Linked DNA regions of Homo sapiens: region 1 is linked to region 2. The links are contacts of gene promoters, found by promoter capture Hi-C in human tissues and cell types (Jung and others, 2019). All regions are on one chromosome and are shown on one strand. Each heading gives the region's core, a stretch centred on a gene start or on the middle of the fragment in contact. The rest is flanking DNA. Distances are from core to core; before and after follow the strand shown. Region 1 has its middle 28 kb from the start of MMP17. Region 2 holds the start of ULK1 (unc-51 like autophagy activating kinase 1).

Region 1 (4,678 bases), core at 2,032-4,531, 39 kb after region 2:
CGCAGCTGTAATCCCAGCTACTCGGGAGGCTGAGGCAGGACAATCGCTTGAACCCGGGAGGCGGAGGTTGCCGTGAGCCGAGATTGTGCCACTGCACCCCAGCCTAGGTGACAGAGCAAGACTCCATCTGAAACAAAACAAAACAAAAATAACATACACTCTCTCCCCGTTTCAGAGGACTGGGTGGAGGCTATGTCCGCCTCCCCTGGAAGCCCTCAAGGACCCACAGAAGTCTCGAGCCTGCCAGTGTGCAGCGGGGGACACAGATCCGCCCTCTGCACCGGGAGCATCATGTGAAGTCTAAGAAAGCCCTGCAGGACCAGCCGTCTCACACTTGTCGTGGAAAATCCCATCAGCACACCTCTGACTCCCACGTGGGAATCACCAGGCCATCACCATCAAACCGCCCTCCCGCAGGCAAAAACGGCAAACGCAGCCCTCCCATGCTCAAGGGAGGTCTCATCGCTCTGCCATAGTCCTCACAAATCTCCAAATACAACCAAGATGTGTCTCCCTCACAGCCCTCGTCCAAGCCACTGTCTCTCCCTGGCAAATCCCAGCCCTGCACCCTCACTGGCCCCACGTCCACCCATTCTCAGAACGGCAGTCAGATGGACCTGCAGAACCTCCGTCTCATCAGGCCCCACTCTGCCCAAAACCCTCCCGTGGCTCCCCTGAGCCCGCACAGTAAACACAGAAATCCCTGACACCCCAGCGTCTCCTCAGACTCTCCAGAGCACCCAGCACATCCCTGAAGCACCCAGGGCCTCCCCAGAGCATTCAGCACCCAGGGCTTCCTCCGAGCACCCAGCACCCAGGGCCTCCCCAGAGCACCCAGCACCTTCCTAGAGTACCCAGCACCTCCCTAGAGCACCCAGCACCTCCCCACAGCACCCAGCACCGCCCCAGAGCACCTAGCACCACCGCACAGTACCCAGCACCTCCCCAGAGCACTGTTCCAGAGTACCCAGTACCTTCCTAGAGTACCCAGCACCTTCCTAGAGTACCCAGCATCAGGCAGAACACCCAGCATGACCCAGAGCACCCAGGAGCACCTCAGAGTACCCAGCACCTCCCCAGAGCACTCAGAACCTCCCCACAGCACCCAGCATCATCCCCAGAGCACCCAGCACCTCCCCAGAGCATCCAGCACCACCCCAGAGTACCCATCACCTCCCCAGAGCACTGCCTCAGAGTACCCAGCATCTTCCCAGAGCACCCAGAACCGCCCCAGAGTACCCAGCACCTCCCCAAAGCACCCAGCACCAACCCAGAGCACCCACCACTTCCCCAGAGAACTCAGTACCTCTCCAGAGCACCCAGCACCTCCTCACAGCACCCACCACCACCACAGAGCACCCACCACTGCCCCAGAGCACCCAGCACACAGCACCTCCCCAGAGCACCCAGTACCTCCCCAGAGTACCTAGCACCTCCCCAGAGCACCCAGCACACAGCACCTCCCCAGAGCACCCAGCACCTCCCAGAGCACCCAGCGATCTCCAGAGCACCCAACACCACTGGCTGCAGGGCCTGTGTGCAGCCTCCTTCAGCTCCTGCAGGCTCGGCTTCCCTCCTCGACAAACACCGCCCCCCTGCCTCATTTTCCTACCAACATCTGATCACTGCACACTCCACCCACGGGTGACACACTCTCACAGGTACAGCCCCATCTGCTTGGCTGCCTTTTTTCCCCACTGGAATACAGGAAGATTTACAGAAGATTTCACAAGATTAAGGATTTGGCCTGTTTGGTTCAAGGCTGTGGCCCCAGCACCTGGAACAGTGCCTGTGGCTTAATAGGTGTTCGTTGAGCAAATAAAGAGTGACAGAAGGCCGGGCGTGGTGGCTCACACCTGTAATCCCAGCACTTTGGGAGGCCGAGGTGGGTGGATCACTTGAGGTCAGAAGTTCAAGACCAGCCTGGCCAACATGGTGAAAGCTTCTCTACTAAAAATACAAAAATTAGCCAGGCGTGGTGGCCTGTGCCTGTAATCCTAGGTACTCAGGAGGCCGAGGCAGGAAAATGGCTTGAACCCGGGAGGCGGAGGTTGCAGTGAGCCGAGATCACACCACTGCACTCCAGCCTGGGTGACAGAGCAAGGCTCCGTCTAAAAAAAAAGAGTGACAGAAATGCAGGCACCTGCATGGCACCAGCCGAGTGCTGGGAGGAGCCCAGGCCCCATGGAGGCTCCTGCCAGAGCCAGCGCCAACTGCCATACGACAGGAGCAAGCCAGGCCCCCCACCATGGTGCAAGTGCAGGGGAGACCAGCGGCGGAGGCCAGGCAACCTCCAGAGAGAGGGAGGGAGACAGAGAGACAGAGAGAGAGACAGGGACAGGGAGATAGAGAGAGACAGATGCAGAGACAGAGACATAGAGTCAGAGACAGGCAGAGACAAGGAGAGACAGAGACAGAGAGACAGGGAGAGGGACAGAGAGAGAGAGACAGAGAGACAGAGACAGGGAGAGAGACAGAGACAGGGAGAGGGACAGAGATAGAGACAGAGAGACAGAGACAGATGGGGAGACAGAGATATAGAGACAGAGAGGCAGAGGCAAGGAGAGACAGAGACAGAGAGGCACAGAGAGAGAGAGTCAGGGAGAGAGACAGAGATAGAGACAGAGAGACAGAGACAGGGAGGGAGACAGAGAGAGACAGGGACAGGGAGAGAGACAGATGGAGAGACAGAGATATAGAGACAGAGACAGGCAGAGACAAGGAGAGACAGACAGGGAGAGAGACAGAGAGACAAGAGACAGGGAGAGGGACAGAGATACAGAGAGACAAGGAGAGAGAAAGATAGAGACTGAGTTGGAGAGACAGACAGAGATACAGACAGAGACAGAGAGAGGCAGAGACAGAGAAACAGACTGGGGGTGACAGAGCGAGCGAGAAGGCAAGGATCCTGCTGCTGTTAAGTGGAGAAGCCGTGGGGGTCCTGTCCTGCAGTCACGGTGGAAGGACCCTGACCCGGTGGAGGTGGAGAGTGTGGCCAGCAGTGGCTCTGTCTCCTCGGCTCCTCCCATTTCTCAGCCGCAGCGGGGGTCCTGCCTGCCTGGCCTGGGCTCAGGGGGGCGGGGTGCAGAGCCACCCTGGCCCATCACAGCTTGGGGTGAAGCAGCCCAGAGCCAGCCGCCCCGCTGCAGCCACGGCGCCCTAAAAACGGCCCGGGAGCTGGGAGGGGCGGCCCTGGCTTGCGCTGTAGTCACACCTGTGGGTCCAGCTCGGCTGCCCCGGAGCGGTGTGCTCTGGCGTCCTTAGGATTCCCACGAGAGTGTCCTGCTACCTGCGGTCCCTCCGCCTGGGCAAGGGAGTGCTGCTCTCAGCCCGACCTCAGAGTGTGCCCGCTGGCTTCACACTTGGCTCCGCCCCTCCCTGAACACCTGGGCTCGGACAGCTCTCTGCCAGCTCTGGGCCTCAGTTTCCTCATCTGGGAAACAGAAGTAACCCAGTCCCTCCGCTCAGTGTCGCTGCCAGGATTCAGTGAGTTTGCAGTCGCAGATCGCAGGGCAGGCCCGGCATCTTAGCTGTCACTCATGCTGCTTTGGGGTGATCTGCCTCCCGCCAGAGCCTCCTAAGCCCCCACAATCCACTCCCCACAGGGTTTCTGAAGGAGGCCAGGAGGGTGGCAGGGAGGGACAGGTGCGGCTGGGATCTGGGGCCACCCACCCACCGGGCAGCCTTGGCCCATCCACCCTGGATGTTATGCACTGAATGTCTGTGTCTCCTCAGACATCTTTGTGTGTGTGTGTGTGTGTGTGCGTGTGTGTGTGGTTTTTAAGTTTTTAGTAGAGATGGGGTCTTGCTGTGTTGCCCAGGCTGGTCTTGAACTCCTGGGCTCAAGCGATCCTCCTACTTTGGCCTCCAAAAGTGCTGGAATTACAGGCATAAGCCACCGTGCCCGGCCACCAGTCACATTTTGAAACCATGACCGCTAGTGTGATGGTGTTAGGAGGGGGCCTTTGGCAGGCGATTTGGGTTAGATGAGGTCGTGAGGGCGGAGCCCCCACAATGAGATTGGTGCCCTGGTAGGGGGTGAAGGGACCAGCACTTTCTCTCTCGGGCTTGTGAGGACACAGTGAGAAGGTGCTGGCTTTGAACCAGGAAGCGGGCCTCTAAGAACCTGACCCTGCCGGCATCCTGACCTCAGACTCCTGCAGATTGGTGGGAAAGCAAATGCCTGTGTGGAAGCCGCACAGTCTATAGCAGCCTGTCACGGCAAGCTGAGCTAAGACACCGTGCCTCAGTTTCCCTCCCTGTAACACGGCAGCTGGAGAGGGTGTGTCCTGGCCTCAGAGGTCACCCATGTGGAAGCCGCATGGTCTACAGCAGCCTGTCACGGCAAGCTGAGCTAAGACACCGTGCCTCAGTTTCCCTTCCTGTATCATGGGAGCTGGAGAGGGTGTGTCCTGGCCTCGGAGGTCTCCCATGCAGAGGCGTTGTATAGCACCCATGGGGCTGTGTGTTTTTGGTCAAAAGCCTGGGTCACGCTAAGGGCAGCCAGTGCCTTGGCCCGGCCGTGTGGCTCAAGAGAGACCCTGGGCCTCCAGGCTGACCTCCCTGGGGTGGAAGGAAGAAGGGAAGAGGTCCTTGCCCCTCACTGGGGTGGCGTGGGTCCTCTGACCTCCTTCGGAGGGTTTTGACTGTGGCTGTGGGCTGGCGATGCCCTGCCTCC
Region 2 (4,881 bases), core at 71-2,570:
GGGCCCAGTAGACCCCAGCCTGGACAGGCTCAACACCAGTGCTCACCAGGGGATCCAGCACCTGGGGCCACAGTCCCCCAGCCCGGTCCCCAGCAGACCGCAGCCCAGAGGCCTTACCTGGAAGTCGTACAGGGCCACGATGTTTTCATGTTTCAGTTCCTAGGACAGAAACCCAAGTTTGTTATCAGTGTGGGGAGGGGGGCTTGCCCACGCCCACGCCCACGCCCCCTCCCCCAGCACTGGCTCACCTTCAGGATTTTGATTTCCTTCCCCAGCAGCGTCTGAGACTTGGCGAGGTTCTTCTTGTTAATGCACTTGACGGCGACCTCCAAATCGTGCTTCTGAAAGCCAAACGTGCACCTTCAAGGCCAGGGCTGCCCCTCGCAGGCCTCCCCCAGACCCCAGTCCACACAGGTGGGGCCCTGAGATGATCCCGGTTGGGAATCCCGGGACTGGAAGGCCGAGTGGGGAGCCAGGTTGAGGATCGCGCTGGGGGTCCTGGGGTAGGGATCCAGCCTCGAAAGCCGGCTGTGGGACCAGGTTGCGGGGTGTCCCGGGGTGAGGGTTTGGACAGGAAAGTCGGGCTGGGGGTCTCGGAGTGAGGATCTGGGCTGGAAAGCCCGGCAGCGGATCTCGGGGCGGGAGTCTGAACTGGAAAGTCGGGCTGGGGGTCGCGGGGTGGGGATCCTGGGGTGGGGGTCGGCCTGGAAAGTCGAGTGGGGCTCTCGGGAGGCGTGGGGGGGTCCCGGGACAGGCGGGGAATCTCGGGGCGGGGATGCAGGGGCAGGGGATCCTGGGCGGGGGATCCCGGGCCGGACGGGGGCCTCACCTCGCGGTGGCGGCCCTTGAAGACCACCGCGAAGGCGCCGTGGCCGATCAGGTCCTTGCGGGAGAACTCGAACTTGCCCACGGTCTCTGTGCCGCCGCGGCCGGGCTCCATGGCGCAGGCGGGCCGGGGGCGCGGGGCGGGGGGTGGCGGGCCAAGGCGCGGGGGACTCAGGCGGAGGCGCGGGCCGGGGCGGGCGGGCCGGGGGCGCGGGGCCGGGGGCGCGGGGCCGGGCGAGGGCGCATCTCCGGGGCCGCGCGCCCCATCGGGCAGGCCGGGGCCGGGTCCCAGCCCCGCGGGCCAGGCGGGGTCCGAGGGTCGCGCTCCCTCCGGCGCCTGTGCCACGGCACTCTTCCCGGGCTGCTAATCCGAATCCGGATCCGACTCCGACTCCGACTCCGGCTCCAACTAGGGCCCGGGCTCGGCCCCAACGGAGAAACAAAAGAGCCGCGGCGCCCGGGCCTCAGAGCCTGAGACGCCCGCGCAGCCGCACTGCGCGCCGGGCCGGGAGGCGGGATGAGGGCGGGGCCTGCGGGACGGAGCGGCAGAGCCGGGCGTGACGAACAGACGGGGGGCGGGGAATGGGGCGGGGCCTGTCGGGGGGGTGGGCGGCTGGGCCGGGCCATTGCGGGGCCGGGTGGGCTGGGAGTGGGTGGGGCCAACAGCGGACCCGCCCCGGTGAGAGCAGAGAGGCGCGCTGACCCGGGAGCGGGCCACGGGGCTCAGTGTTGATTCCTTGCCCCACTCCCTTCCACGCCCCTTCCCCGCCCCTTCCCCGCCCCGCTTCTTCTCTGCTCCCCTCCCTCCTTTCCCCTCTCTCCGTCCTCCTCCCTCCTTTTCCCCTTCCCATCACCTCTCTCCCTCCCTGCCCCCTCCCTTCCGCCCCCTCCCATGCCTTCCCCCCCGCTCCCCTCCCGCCCCCACTGCCTGTTCTCCTCCCTCCTGTCCCCCCTCCCTGTTCCCCTCCCTCCCCTTCCCTGTTCCCCTCCTTCCCGCTCCCTGTTCCCCTTCTACAGGAGAATGGAGAACAGGCGTGGGAAATGTTCCCAAAACGGGGGACTGCGCAGAATTAATTCTTAGAAATAGAATGGCTGAGTTAGAGGTTAGGCATTTAAAGTTGAGTTCCATAATGCCAAATTGCAAAAAAAAAAAAAAAAATTGTAGACCAAAAAGTTGTCACCCAAACCAACGACATAGCCCATAAATCCGCTGGGGAGGAAAGGTTAGCTAGATGGGCTGCGCATCGGTCCTGTGGAACACTGCACAGAGGTAAATATACCTGTGCTCAAGGGTGAGTTCTCCAAAGATTATAATTAAGTAAAAGCAAAATATGGAACAGGGCACTGTACTGTCTGTCGTTTTAAGAAAGCGGTAGGATTGGGATGTGTGTGTGTGTGAAACGCCTGTAATGTGTACATGGTCGTTCCTAACTATAATGACAGCTAACTCATCACTTAGGCCAAGCAGCGCACTTTCCAGCGATTAGTGCATCCATTCAATGATTCCACGAGGCACTTGCTGTTATGTCCCTGTTTTACAGATGAGGAAATCAAGGCGGAGAAAAGTTGGAGAATGTGTCCAAAGTCACACCGCCGGCAGCCAAAAGAGCCCGGGGGCTCACTCACAGAAGACACAGCCAACAGCGATTGCTCTGGGAGAGAGGACCGGGGAAAAGTTAGTGCTGTTCACCGTACACGTTGCGCGCTAGTTGGAATGGCTTTCACCACGTGCAAGCACTGCTTTTGCAAATGCATGATTCTAAACAATGCTCACCAACCCAGCCTTCAGTACAGTCCTAAAGTAACAGCCCAGAAACACACACTTCAGCCAGGACCCTCCATGCTGCCTCCCAGAGCAGCCCAGCAGCTGGACAGCCTGATGCCCTGGGCTGGATCAGCAAGTCCTGGATGCCTTTTACCTGCACCCAGCTCATCCTCCAGGCCGCAGGACACACAGACTCCCGACCCTGGACTGGGGGCCAGAAGCCACCGAGCTGGAAGGGACAAGAGGTCTCCTGGCCCACCATGTTTGTTTTCCCAATAAAGAGGTTCCACAGTGCCCCGTAGTCAGCCATAGCATTCACTCACATCCTGGAGTGCCTGCTGCACACCGGCCTGCCCAGAGAGCACACGCTGCGAGGTAAGTGCTGCAGTTGACACAGTGAGAACAAGACCCGCCTGCAGGAGCTCCCAGCGCTTAGGGGTGGGGGACAAGAAGAGCAAAGATTGCACCACCCGTGGCAAAATTGCAAGAGAAAAATGAGTGAACAGGTGGCTACGTGCTGAGGTGATCAGGGCAGACCGTGAGGGCCGAGATTGCTAGAGATGGCGAAGCCTGTACTCCTGGAAAGTACTCAGGGAACCCCAGCCCAGCCCACCCTGGCCTGGAAAGCCAAGCTAACGGGGTCTTCACCCCAAACTCAAAGAAATACCCAGGAAGAGTTTAGGAGAGGGTGGGATGGCAAGATGGGATTTGCATTTGGAAACCGTTACTAGGCCCACCGAGGAAGGACATGTTTCTTTTTTGTTTTGTGCGGTCTTATTAAATTTTTTATTCTTTTTATAACTTTTAGGTTCAGTGGTGTGTGGACAGGTTTGTTATACAGGTAAATTATGTTTCACAGGGTTTGATGAACGGATTATTTCATCACCCAGGTAATAAGCAGAGTACCCGATAAGTAGTTTTTTGATCCTCTCTCCCTCCTCCCACCCTCCCACCCTCAAGTGGGACCTGGTGTCTCTTGTTCCCTTCTTTGTGTCCTATTTTCTTTTTTTTTTTTTTGAGACGGAGTCTCGCTCTTTCGCCCAGGCTGGAGTGCAGTGGCGCTATCTTGGCTCACTGCAAGCTCCGCCTCCCAGGTTCACGCCTTTCTCCTGCCTCAGCCTCCCGATTAGCTGGAACTACAGGCGCCCGCCACCACACCTGGCTAATTTTTTGTATTTTTAGTAGAGATGAGGTTTCACCGTGTTAGCCAGGATGGTCTCGATCTCCTGACCTCGTGATCTGCCCACCTCGGCCTCCCAAAGTGCTGGGATTATAGGTGTGAGCCACAGCGCCCGGCCCGTATATTTTCAGTGTTTACCTCCCACTTATAAGTGAGAACATGTAGTGTTTGGTTTTCTGTTCCTGTGTTAGTTCGCTTAGGATGATGGCCTCCAACTCCATCCATGTTGCTGCAGAGGACATGATCTCATTCTTTTTTATGGCTGTGTAGTATTTCATGGTGTATATGTACCACAGTTTCTTTTTTTTGAGACAGGGTCTCACTCTGTCACCCAGGCTGGAGTGCAGTGGCTCAATCGCCACTCACTGCAGCCTTGACTACCTGGGTTTAGGTGATCCTCCTGCCTCACCCTCCCAAGCAGCTGGGATTACAGGTGCACGCCACCACACCCTACTAATTTTTGTATTTTTTGTAGAGATGAGATCTCACTATGTTGCCCAGGCTAGTCTCAAACTCCTGGGCCCAAGTGATCCTCCCGCCTCGGCCTCCCAAAGTGTTAGGATTATAGACGTAAGCCATCGGCCCAGCGTGGTGGCTTACGCCTGTAATCCCAACACTTTGGGAGGCCGAGGCGGGCTGATCACCTGAGGTCAGGAGTTCGAGACCAGCCTTGGCCAACATGGAGAAACCTTGTCTCTACTAAAAATACAAAATTAGCCGGGTGTTGTGGTGCATGCCTGTAATCCCAGCTACTCGGGAGGCTGAGGCAGGAGAATCGCTTGAACCCGGGAGGCGGAGGTTGCGGTGAGCCGAGATCGCACCATTGCACTCCAGCCTGGGAGACAAGAGTGAAACTCCATCTCAAAATAAATAAATAAATAAATAAATAAAATTAAACAACAGACATAAGCCACCACACCCAGCCTCAGAATGTGTTTGTTTTTGTTTTTTTTTGTTTTGTTTTTTTTGAGGCAGAGTTTCGCTCTTTTCACCCAGGCTGGAGTGCCATGGCGCGATCTCGGCTCATTGCAACCTCCACCTCCCTGGTTCAAGTGATTCTCCTGCCTCAGCCTCCCAAGTAGCTGGGATTACAGGCACACGCCACCACACC

Evidence for each region. The method cuts DNA at HindIII sites, captures the fragments that hold promoters and counts their contacts. A contact is called where the count stands out against the background at its distance.
Region 1: a fragment that was not itself captured here is called in contact with the fragment with the promoter of ULK1 in region 2 in 1 of the 25 tissues and cell types used here (dorsolateral prefrontal cortex).

The regions. Positions count from the first base shown.
Region 1 is chr12:131,854,427-131,859,104 of GRCh38, reverse strand. No RefSeq gene overlaps it. Among named protein-coding and RNA genes, the nearest start is that of MMP17, 28 kb to the right of the region's middle. RefSeq lists an enhancer at 2,620-3,171. The HindIII fragment of the contact is 9,300 bases long and covers 1-4,678 here.
Region 2 is chr12:131,891,061-131,895,941 of GRCh38, reverse strand. ULK1 (unc-51 like autophagy activating kinase 1) reads right to left here and starts at 1,320. Exons shown (of 28, transcript NM_003565.4): 1 at 830-1,320; 2 at 249-341; 3 at 118-159. The coding sequence starts at 940. It overlaps LOC124903059 (a long non-coding RNA gene), which reads left to right and starts at 1,784. Exons shown (of 2, transcript XR_007063538.1): 1 at 1,784-2,095; 2 at 2,367-2,884. RefSeq lists silencers at 1,061-1,570, 1,601-1,650. The HindIII fragment of the contact is 30,695 bases long and covers 1-4,881 here.